Linked DNA regions of Homo sapiens: region 1 is linked to region 2. The links are contacts of gene promoters, found by promoter capture Hi-C in blood cells and fetal thymus (Javierre and others, 2016). All regions are on one chromosome and are shown on one strand. Each heading gives the region's core, a stretch centred on a gene start or on the middle of the fragment in contact. The rest is flanking DNA. Distances are from core to core; before and after follow the strand shown.

Region 1 (4,870 bases), core at 56-2,555, 5.6 Mb after region 2:
ATCCTATTGTTTTTCTAAAGTAATTTCTAAAACAGATGCCCCTTTGAAAACTATTTCCAATTTTTCTTTGTGTGTGTGTGTGTGTGTGTGAGGGTTTTTTTTGTTGTTGTTTGTTTTTTTGAGATGGAGTCTCACTCCGTGGCCCAGGCTGGAGTGCAGTGCAGTGATGCCATCTCGGCTCATTGCAGCCTCCGCCTCCCAGGTTCAAGTGATTCTCCTTCCTCAGCCTCCCAAGTAGCTGGGACTACAGGCATGCACCACCAGTTTTTGTATTTTTGTAATTTTTGTATTTTTAGTAGAGACAGGGTTTCACCATGTTGGCCAGGCTGGTCATGAACTCCTGACCTCAGGTGATCCACCTGCCTCTGTCTCCCAAAGCGCTGGAATTACAGGCGTGACCCACCGTGCCTGGCCTCATTTTTTTTTTTTCAATCATTTCACTCAGCAGCTTCACTAGGCCCAAGCCTGACATAAGAGTTTTCATATCCCATAATGCAAAAAACCCCAAGAACTCTGTGAAGGAACAATATTGGCCCAGAGTCGACCCAAACAGGGAGATCTGGGCTGCATCTTCCCTCCCCTCCCCGCCCCAGAAAGTCTAAATTTAGTTTACTGGATACCCTGCAATGACATTAACATGTCATTGCAACATTAACATGTTGCAAAAACAAGAATCAAGCAAAAGAGAAAGAGGAAGCTTAATGTGGCATGAGGTATTTTAATACCATGGCAACTGTGGTGTCTTCTCTATTATTTAATTCACTTCCTTAGGTCAGGTTATTCTGCCCTCTCTCTCTTGCACTTCCTGTTGCTGTAATCAAATCAGGTCACCCTGAATCTGTAAGTCTTCTTCCTGACTGCACTCATGTCTATTTCCAGCAGAATGAATTTTCTCCATTTCTTTCTTTGCTCCCTGGACCTTTATTTGGTGCCCTTGATGTCCCTGCTCTTCCCAGTGCTCCACAAGCTGCAAACGCTTCCCTTTCATCCCCATCTCCTCCCCCACCCGTCTCCTCCTCGCTGCTCCTCTCCCAGCCCCTCCCTCCAGCTTCTGCAGTTGTCACTAACACAGTTAGCCACTTGATTAGTGACTCAGTGATTCAGAACCCAGGAACCTTGGTTCTCCTAAAACTTCCATGCTTCCCTCCCTAGAGTCAAGATAAAGGTTCTCCCCTCACCTGCCTGCCCAGATAGAGCCATTAACGTGAGAGGACTTGAGTATTCAGTTTGTTGGAGTTGCCCTGGCTTCTTCCCATTTCCTTTTTATGTGCCTTTTCCTGGGGCTTCTCAGGCTCTATTTACCTTTTCTCCAGAAAAGGTGGACAGAGAAGGTTTGAGCTTCGAATTTATGTAGCCCAACTCTTCATTTACAGATGGGAAAACGAAGGCCCCCCCCCCGGCCCCCGCAGAACTGAATTGCCCAGTTGCTTGGCTAGTTCTTGGTGGAACCAAAACAGACAAAGCAAAAACTCAATCAAACTGGCTAATTTGGTGGGAAAAAATCTTGTGAAGGAGTGAGCAGTGCCAAAACGAGACTTGATGATTATTTAAAAGGTCTTTCACTAATTTTATCCTTGTCATCCTGCTGGCGGTGTAAGCAAGTGATGGAAACCAGAGCCAGGCCAGCAACCATAAAGCCACCAGGGCTTCTGGAGAGGCTCTGATGCGACTTCCTACCGCTGAGGTCTCAGAGGCTCCTCCCTCCCAAATACATGGAGACCCAGAAGACTGCTTGGGCCCCTCCACTCCCTGCCAGCGGGCAGGATGAGGAGTCAGTAACAGCCAACAGTAGTGAATCCCACATAAGTTCCACATTCACTACTTGTTTCACAATTCGCTTAGCATGCATAGCAGCGAATTGACAGAATTGTTTCCCCTAAATGTAGGAAGGTGCATAAAATACAAGAAGCTTGTAAAAATATATTTATTGCAAAAGTTATATCAGTCTTGTATGTAAGCACCAGCCTTCTCCAGGGAAAGACAGGGGTGGTAGAATGAATAAAATTAACTCAGTATTTTGACTGCTTGCTGCAATGGAAGAGGGAATTATGTTTCCCAAGCTGGGTATGAAGAGAAGGAATATAGCCTTGGAGGCAATGGAAACTAAGCCAGAGCAGCTTAGAAAAGTCACCCCTCCTCCTGATTCAAGACCAAAGACAGGGAAAAAAAAGTCACTCTCAGTGTGAACATGAAAGCAAGTCTCACCCAGCCTAGATGTTGGATGTCCTGTGCGGTCCCGTTCCTCCCTGGTAGAGCTTGTTCTGTCTCACTGGGATCTGCCAAGTTAGGAGCTGAGCCACACTACTTCTGCTGCTGCTGTTGCTGCTGCACATTGTTTGTGATTAAGAGTTTTATTGATTTTCTAGCCCATGACCACATTGGTGGGGACAGAGTACGACAGGGGAAACTGGTGGAAAGCCAAGTAGAAAGAGAGTTTATGAAATCAGCTCTCAATGAAGAAAACTGTGGGAAAGAATGCGATGGAAGCAGATTTGGGGCCAGTCGATGTGGGAAAGTAGAACAACTCAAAAATGCTCTTCAGATTTGAACTGAAACAAAGCACTTTGCCAAAACATAGGAGGAGAATCCAGTCTGTGAGAAAGCCTCAGCACTGTTTATATAAAACAGAATATTCCTATCTGCAAAATCATTGCTGACAATGCTTAACCCACATTCTGTACCAGGCACTGTGTTGTGTTCTAGGACCATAAATAAGAATCAGTCCGTCTAGAGAAGGAGACTCGAAACATACACAACATGATTTGTAAAGATACAAGTGGATCTTAAGAGAGTCATAAAAACATTTTGCCCCAGCTTTGGGCCCAGAGCCAGCAGGAATGAATGGTGGGGGAAGAGGGATGGGACTGTGTCCCTGCTGCTGCCTGCCTCATGTGCAGATCTGGTGAAGGTTCTCTGTAGTTTGACCCCGCATCACTACTGACTTTGCTAGAAAGACCCTGCTCCCTTCCTGTCCCTGCCTCTTGTAGGTCCAGAGGACCCCTGCTTCACCGACGGCGGGGGCCGGGGTTGGGGGGTGCCGTAGGCAGGGTTTCAGGTGTTCTCAAGGTAGTAGGTAGAAAGGGAGCGCTTGACAGTTTGGGTGCTTAGTACAGGCTGGGAAAACCTCACAGCACCAAGGGGACAGTTGGACACTTGCAACATGATTCCTCCCCTCTCCTTCACTCCCACACGTACCCACCCACCATGAAACTGTGTCTTCTGTACGTCTTGAGAGATTTCTTCCAGCCTCCCAGCCCTGCCTCACTGCCTTTGAGTAAGAGAATAAAGTCTTTTTGCTGCTTCCTTCAGCTTTCAGCATTGTTTTTCACCCTGAAAATCAACTGGAAACTGGGGAAGACGAGTATCTGGTATGTTTTAGTGCACCAGTATAATATGCAAGGGAGGGGGTGATATGTAAAAAGGTTAAATGAGAAAAAATATCATATAATTCAAAACCAGTGAGTGACCGAGCTCAGTAAATGATGGCTTTTTAAAAATCAGATATAAAATCCTGTTTCTGTGGTTCATGTTTGAAAATGATGTAACCTAAAGTGGCTCTTTCATCTTCCACTGCACGTACACCTTCTCTGTTTAGCCTTGGACTCCCAGTATCTGCACTGGAGGACTTTAAGGAGGTCAAACCTAAGCCAAGAGACTTCAGAGAGGTATAGACTAAGCTAGAGGGTGTCTTGCTTGAGCCAAAGAACCTCAGAGTGCTCTAGCCTAAGCCCCAAGGACCTTATGTCAATGTAGACTAAGCCTCTAATCTGGAGGAATTCAGGCTGGCTGGCTGGGCTCCCAAGACACCTCTGCAGGTGAGCAGCACCAGGACTCAAGTCTCCTAACTTCTGGTCCAGGACCCTCCCCTTTCTAAAACAGTCAAAGGGGCTGAAATTCCTGGAAGTGTGTGGGGCTAATGTCCCTAGCATTGTTCTCTTTTTCATAGAGGAAAAGCTGACTTTAAGAAACAAGCCGGCAATACTTGACAAAAATATCTACCATTTAAGCACAGAGCCAAAAGCAAGGAGTAGTCTCCTGGGCGCTGGAAGTATTTTGAAATCCCCAAAGTCTCATTCATTGATCAGAAAACAAAATGGAATTACTTTTTTTTTGCTCCCTCCTCCCCTCCATGCAGTAGCTGTTCTTGGCGGGTGCCCAGAGCGGCACCCGGTAATTCCACGGTACATTGTGTACATTTACATCTGTTTAATCGGCTATTTACAGTCGCCCTTTACCGCCACCTGTAAGAGGCAGCGCCATAACGACACTAAGTGGCCGGGCCGGAAGCCGGGTGCCCAATGGTTTTCTCCACTTGAGGACGCCTGAATCTGTGAAGTGGTTGGCACTTGGAGAAACAGAGAGACAGCTGGGGACATCACACGTACAGGGCGGGAGGCGCGGGAAAGAGGCGCGCCAGACGGAGGGTCCTTCCTTCCTCGTTAGCTCCACTCGGCGGCTCCTTTTCCATTACCACAGCAGCAAGGAGGAACCTGCCGAGCCTTCGGTGCGGCTTGTTTCCTGCCTGACAGAGAGCCCGCTGCCATTTGGATTTGATGAATTTCTGAATCACCCGAGGGCCTGGCGACCCGAAGGAGGGCGGGGAGTGGGGGCGCTGGGGTGGACCCGCCATCCTGCGGAATCCGGGCCAGATAACAGCCCCCGAGCTGGGGAAATCGGCTTGCGGATGTGATGCGGGACCGCGAGGACACCTGCGCTCCCTTGCGTGTCGCACTCGTGCAGCTCCCGGTGGCGACGGGGTGATGTGGGGGCGAGGGTGAGAGGAAGTCCAGGCGCCAGAGCGTCAGAAACGCTTCCTTAGCTTCCCTGGCACTTTGGAGGTTGTCTCGAGGGAACACGGACAGTGCACGAC
Region 2 (5,046 bases), core at 2,040-4,539:
AGGGGAAATCAAATGGGAAGTGGAGAACGACAATTAGCAGCCTCTGGCAGATAAGATCCAGAAGAAACAGGTCTTTCTTCATAAAATACATTTTTTGAGTAGGATTCCATTACTTGAATTTTTGTAGAAAATGAAACAATGCTATGTGGCAATAAAGACATTCTTAGGTTACTCTATTTTTGTAAGAGATTTCATAGATTCAAAAGAAATCCTATTACTTACTATTTTGACTCTTTGGTAAAATAACTTACCTTTTCATCTTTAGAATTCAGAGAACTGGTACAACCACGGATACTAAACTAGTGATTATTTTCACGAATTGTCAAAATGCATTCATTCTCTATCTAGTAAAGACAAATAATGAAGAATTATATCTGTATTATTTATCTATTGCCATGTAACAAATTACGACTAAATTTAGGAGCTTAAAATAAACACTATCTCACCCAGTTTCTGAGGTCAAGAATTTCAGAGCTTATCTGGGTAGTTCTGGCCAGGGTTTCTCCTGAGGTTGTAGTCAAGATTTTGGCCAACGCTGGAGTTGTCTGAAAACCTGACTGGGCTGGAGGATTCGCTTCAAAGCTGACTCACATGACTGCTGGAGGAAAGCAGGCTCCAGTTTCTTACAAGGGGAACCTCTCTGTAAATCTGACACATAGCAGCCAGGTTCCACCAGCATGAGTGACCCATGAGACAGGGAGTATGAGAGGCCAATCAAAATGCCAAAAATGTCTCTTATAACCTAATCTCAGAAGTGACATACCACTACTTTTGCTCTATTCTATTGGTCACTCAGACCAATCCTGTTACAAGGTGGAGGTGATTATATGAGTGTGAATACCAGGAAGTGGGAATCACTTGGTGGGGGTCGGGAGTGGGGCATTTTAGAGGCTGCCTACTACAATACCTAACCTTAGGTATTGTTGGAAAAAACAAAACTCCATAAAATCTATCAATCTATGAAGTTTAAAAACAATTTAAAAAATTCTATCTAGTACAATTATTAGCCCTAAAGTTTGTCAGAGTAAACAAACTTAAGGCATTGACTTTGCACAAGAAGAAAAAAGTTGGTTGACTCCTTTGCATAAGTTTAATTTTATAATTTCATTAGGTCTCAAAAGCATTGAATCTTTCAGGTATTATTTGATTAAAATGATGTCTGTTTAGAGTTCTTCACACAGTCAGAAATGGCTTCCTTAGAATAAACATTCATCAACTCTGGTTTGGTTTCTTGAAAAGGTTCAGAAGTTAATGTCAACAAGCAAAGATCCTTTGAAAGTTAAGTGAGTTTCTCTAAGTTTTGGTGCAGTTTAAAGACATAGGATCCTCTAATATTGCCTTAACGCTGAGCTATATTTGGGAAGTTGGCATACAGAGGGTCTGTCTTGGATTAAGTCTCAAAATACCTAAAGGATTTCCTTAAACAGGCCCAGGGTCAGATATAACAGGTGCATCACTTCTAATTTTGGAACCAGAAGCAGCCAGCTTAGAGTGAGGTTGTTCTACATTCATTCAGCAGGAGTTTAGATATTACTTTGAGTTTCTCTTTGAGTTTAAAAGGCAAGCTTTTAAACTCAAAAACAAGGGCGATCCATGTTTTAAGTAGTGGCAATACTCAGGAATTTTTTTTTTTTTGAGAAGAATGAGAAGTATATGCAATGTAAGTGTATTTTAAAAAGAAAAGCAACAGGTTTGACTTGAAGCTATATTTTTCTTTTCCGTTTTTTTTTTTTTTTTTTTGAGACGGAGTTTCGCTCTTGTTGCCCAGGCTGGAATGCAATGTTGGGATCTCGGCTCACCGCAACCTCTGCCTCCTGGGTTCAAGCTATTCTCCTGCCTCAGCCTCCCGAGTAGCTGGGAGTAGCCTCCCGAGTAGCATGTGCCACCACGCCCGACTAATTTTGTATTTTTAGTAGAGACGGGGTTTCTCCATGTTGGTCAGGCTGGTCTCGAACTCCTGACCTCAGGTGACCGGGCTGCCTCGGCCTCCCAAAGTGCTGGGATTACAGGCGTGAGCCACCACGCCCAGCTGAAACTATACTTTTCTAAACCTGATTTCAAAGTGTTTCTTCGCTACAACAAGTAAATTTGAGGCAGGGACATTTTTTCATTTAGGTAACGATAACGTTTGTATTCTCTAAAAGCAGCATAATTTGAGATACAATATTTAAACATTAAGAAATCAAAGACGCTCCAAGGAAAGTGAATACATGACTGATTGCTTGCACTGAAAATACTGAAAAGTGTCTAACGTAGTTTTTAAAAAATTTTTGTCGTTGGACTCTCACCACCTGGCCTGCCTTGCCCCCCATTCCAAGGTATTTGACTACATGTCTAAACCTATAGTAATGCTCCCTTTTCTTCTCCCTCTCCTCCACCATAGCCTAAAAGACTGAATTAGTTCCTATGATTAACCATGTATTTAAATAAGGACACCAGATGTTGTATCTTAGCAAAATAAAATTTTGGTGCAACAGAAGCATGCTGGATAAATTCTGGGTTCTAAAGCATAATTTAACTTTGTCAATTCCCTGCCATTCAACGTCGGAGGGTGGGAAGTTGAGCTGAAGCCTCGAGCACTGGTGGAAGCCATGGCCAGTCCAGTCAGCATGTTATCAAGCAATTTACAAGATGAATTTTTTAAGGGGGAAAAAAAAACCCTAACGTCTTCCGACAGTGACATGTCTCTGTGATGGGGTGCTCAGCTACAGTGACAGGGTGAACAAAAATGTCTTTGGCAAAGCCTTCATCTTGCCGTAGTACGTGAGCTGTACTACTAATAGCAATCAGCAGTCCACGGTTGATTTATGGACAGAGTGTGTCGTCCCGCACCGTGCCAGTTCCCGGAGCCTCAGCCAATTAGCTCTATTTTCTGCTTAAGCCGTTAAAGCCACCTCCATGGAAACACCAGGAGAGCAGGCCGGGGGGAAGGGAGCAGACAGGTGCGCCCTCTGGAAAGAAATACACAAAGGGCCGACACTGCGCCGCCGTGTCCCTGGCAACTCCACGCCAGCCCGGCGCGCGCGATTCCCGCGGCGCAGCGGCAGGGTTGGCGGGTGGCGCGCGCAGGTCGCCCCACATCGGCCGGCGGAGCCCCTCGGCCTGCTCGCGGACGCGGCGCCAGTGCAGCGCGAAGCCGGCTTGGGGCGGTGGCGGTGGCGGCGGCGCGCCCGCGCTGTAGGGACTTGTAGTCCGCGCGCCTCCCGGGCACCTCCCCCGGGTAGGCCGGCCAGCGCGTCCCCGCCCGCCGCAAGCCGACTTCCTGCGGCTGCCAAGACTACATCTCCCGCCGTCCTCTCCGCTGTCGGGCCGAAAGCGAAAACAAATTCTGGGCTGCGAGGTGCTGTTCTCTCCCGGGCGCCCCCACCCGCTCCCTGCCCCTCCGGCGCCCTCCAGCGAGGTGGGGAAACGAAAGGCCGCGTCTTTCTTTTTGGTTTCCTCGGCTCCCGGCGTGGGGAGTGCGCGGGGGCGCAGGCCCCGCTTCACCTGAGCCGGCCCAGCGTGCGCGCCAGGGGCGGGGGTTTTCTCGCTTCACACCGGTACGGAGGAGGAAACTTGTGGGGGCGGCGACCCCCGGCCTGGGTCCTGAGTCAGGCAGCGAGGCCGTCGGGAAGTGACTACTCACTCTCGGGGTTTTCCTTAATCCCGCTCCCCCCGTTTGTCGTGGGCGCGTGTTCGCTCCGAGGAGGCGGCCGCGTGCGGACAGCCATGCATTAGGCAGGGCTTCCCTATGCGCCCGGAGAGCGCGGACCGCTGCCTCGGGCCGCCGCCGCCTGCCGCCGCTCGCGGAGCCCGAGCCCCAGCCCGAGCCGCCGCCTGCCCCAGGCCGGGGCGTCGAGCAGCCGGCGGCCTGGCCATGTGGGGCTAGCCCTCGCCGCGCCTGGCCTGCAGCAGGACCAGCAACATGGAGGCTGCCGTCGGCGTCCCCGACGGCGGGGACCAGGGCGGCGCGGGGCCCCGCGAGGACGCGACGCCCATGGACGCCTATCTGCGGAAACTGGGCTTGTATCGGAAACTGGTCGCCAAGGACGGGTCGTGCCTGTTCCGGGCCGTGGCGGAGCAGGTAATTGCGGGGGGGCGGGGAGGGCTTCGAGGGGAGGCGGGGACGGCCCGGCGGGTCTGGGTGGGGAGGCAGCTGCGGGCTGTCCGGGCCGCCCACGGCCGGGGCTGCGCGTGCCCTGGCTGTCGTCACAGCGCCCCATTGTAACGCCGGAGTGGGACGCTGCTTTGCGTCTGAAAGGTGCAAATTGAAACTCGAAAGCCCGCAAATTAACGGGGTGTCTCTCTCCTGATGAAGAGGTAATGAGTTGAGGACAACTTGTGAGGCCTGCTCGGAGCTTGTACAGTTGATTTATTGCTGGGGACCTGGCGACATGATATTTTTTACTTTTGTTCCGCATTCACCTTCCTTCCCTTCGTTTGAGAAGCACCACGCTCACCCCACTCCAGTAAACCAAGTGTTTACTAGAAGTGGTGGATCAAACTTTACTTGTGGAACATATTTTGGTTTGCTGCTGGACTTTGGAATGTAGGGTAGGCAAGCTCGCCCATGTCACTTGAATCAAATGGGCAAACTGCCGTTTGAGAAAACCAGCCTTTTACAAATATAGAATATTTTGAAGGATTTGTCTTGAGTAGGTTCCACCCTTTATTATGCTCTGCTGGGCTGTGTAGGTATACTAAACAGAACTGACTTTTTTAAAAAAGCCTGTTTTGATGTTGGTAGTAGAAAGGGTACGTGTAACTGGAGCTTTTCAAAACCATTTTCTAACACAGTTGCTCAGGAAGATTTTTCTGAATTTTTTTTTTTGAGCGAGCTTATTCCATGTTATATAACACTGTGTGTTGTAGGTGTGCAGTCACCAAAACCCATCCTATATTGAAAAATAGCTGCCGAAGTAGCTGGATAAAAGTTTCTGCTCTGGTGTGTCTTTCAGACGATTCACATGTGCTTTCCTTTGACCTAGGACCTGCTCCCCACACCCCATTGCACACCCCTCCCTACCCGCCTGTGGGGTTTTTATGATGTTTCTGTTTTCTTTTCCC

The links. The method cuts DNA at HindIII sites, captures the fragments that hold promoters and counts their contacts. A CHiCAGO score of 5 or more calls a contact.
Region 1: a fragment that was not itself captured here is called in contact with the fragment with the promoter of OTUD4 in region 2 in 1 of 17 cell types (total CD4 T cells); the score reaches 5.5 in total CD4 T cells.

What each region holds. Positions count from the first base shown.
Region 1 is chr4:139,556,753-139,561,622 of GRCh38, reverse strand. No RefSeq gene overlaps it. Among named protein-coding and RNA genes, the nearest start is that of SETD7, 3.0 kb to the right of the region's middle. RefSeq lists an enhancer at 4,247-4,416. The HindIII fragment of the contact is 1,212 bases long and covers 700-1,911 here.
Region 2 is chr4:145,178,832-145,183,877 of GRCh38, reverse strand. OTUD4 (OTU deubiquitinase 4) reads left to right here and starts at 3,289. Exons shown (of 21, transcript NM_001366057.1): 1 at 3,289-4,063. The coding sequence starts at 3,905. LOC124900794 (a long non-coding RNA gene) reads right to left here and starts at 1,685. Exons shown (of 2, transcript XR_007058294.1): 1 at 447-1,685; 2 at 1-344. RefSeq lists silencers at 2,883-3,282, 3,373-3,602, 3,723-4,182 and enhancers at 2,528-3,357, 3,358-4,187. The HindIII fragment of the contact is 3,984 bases long and covers 1,568-5,046 here.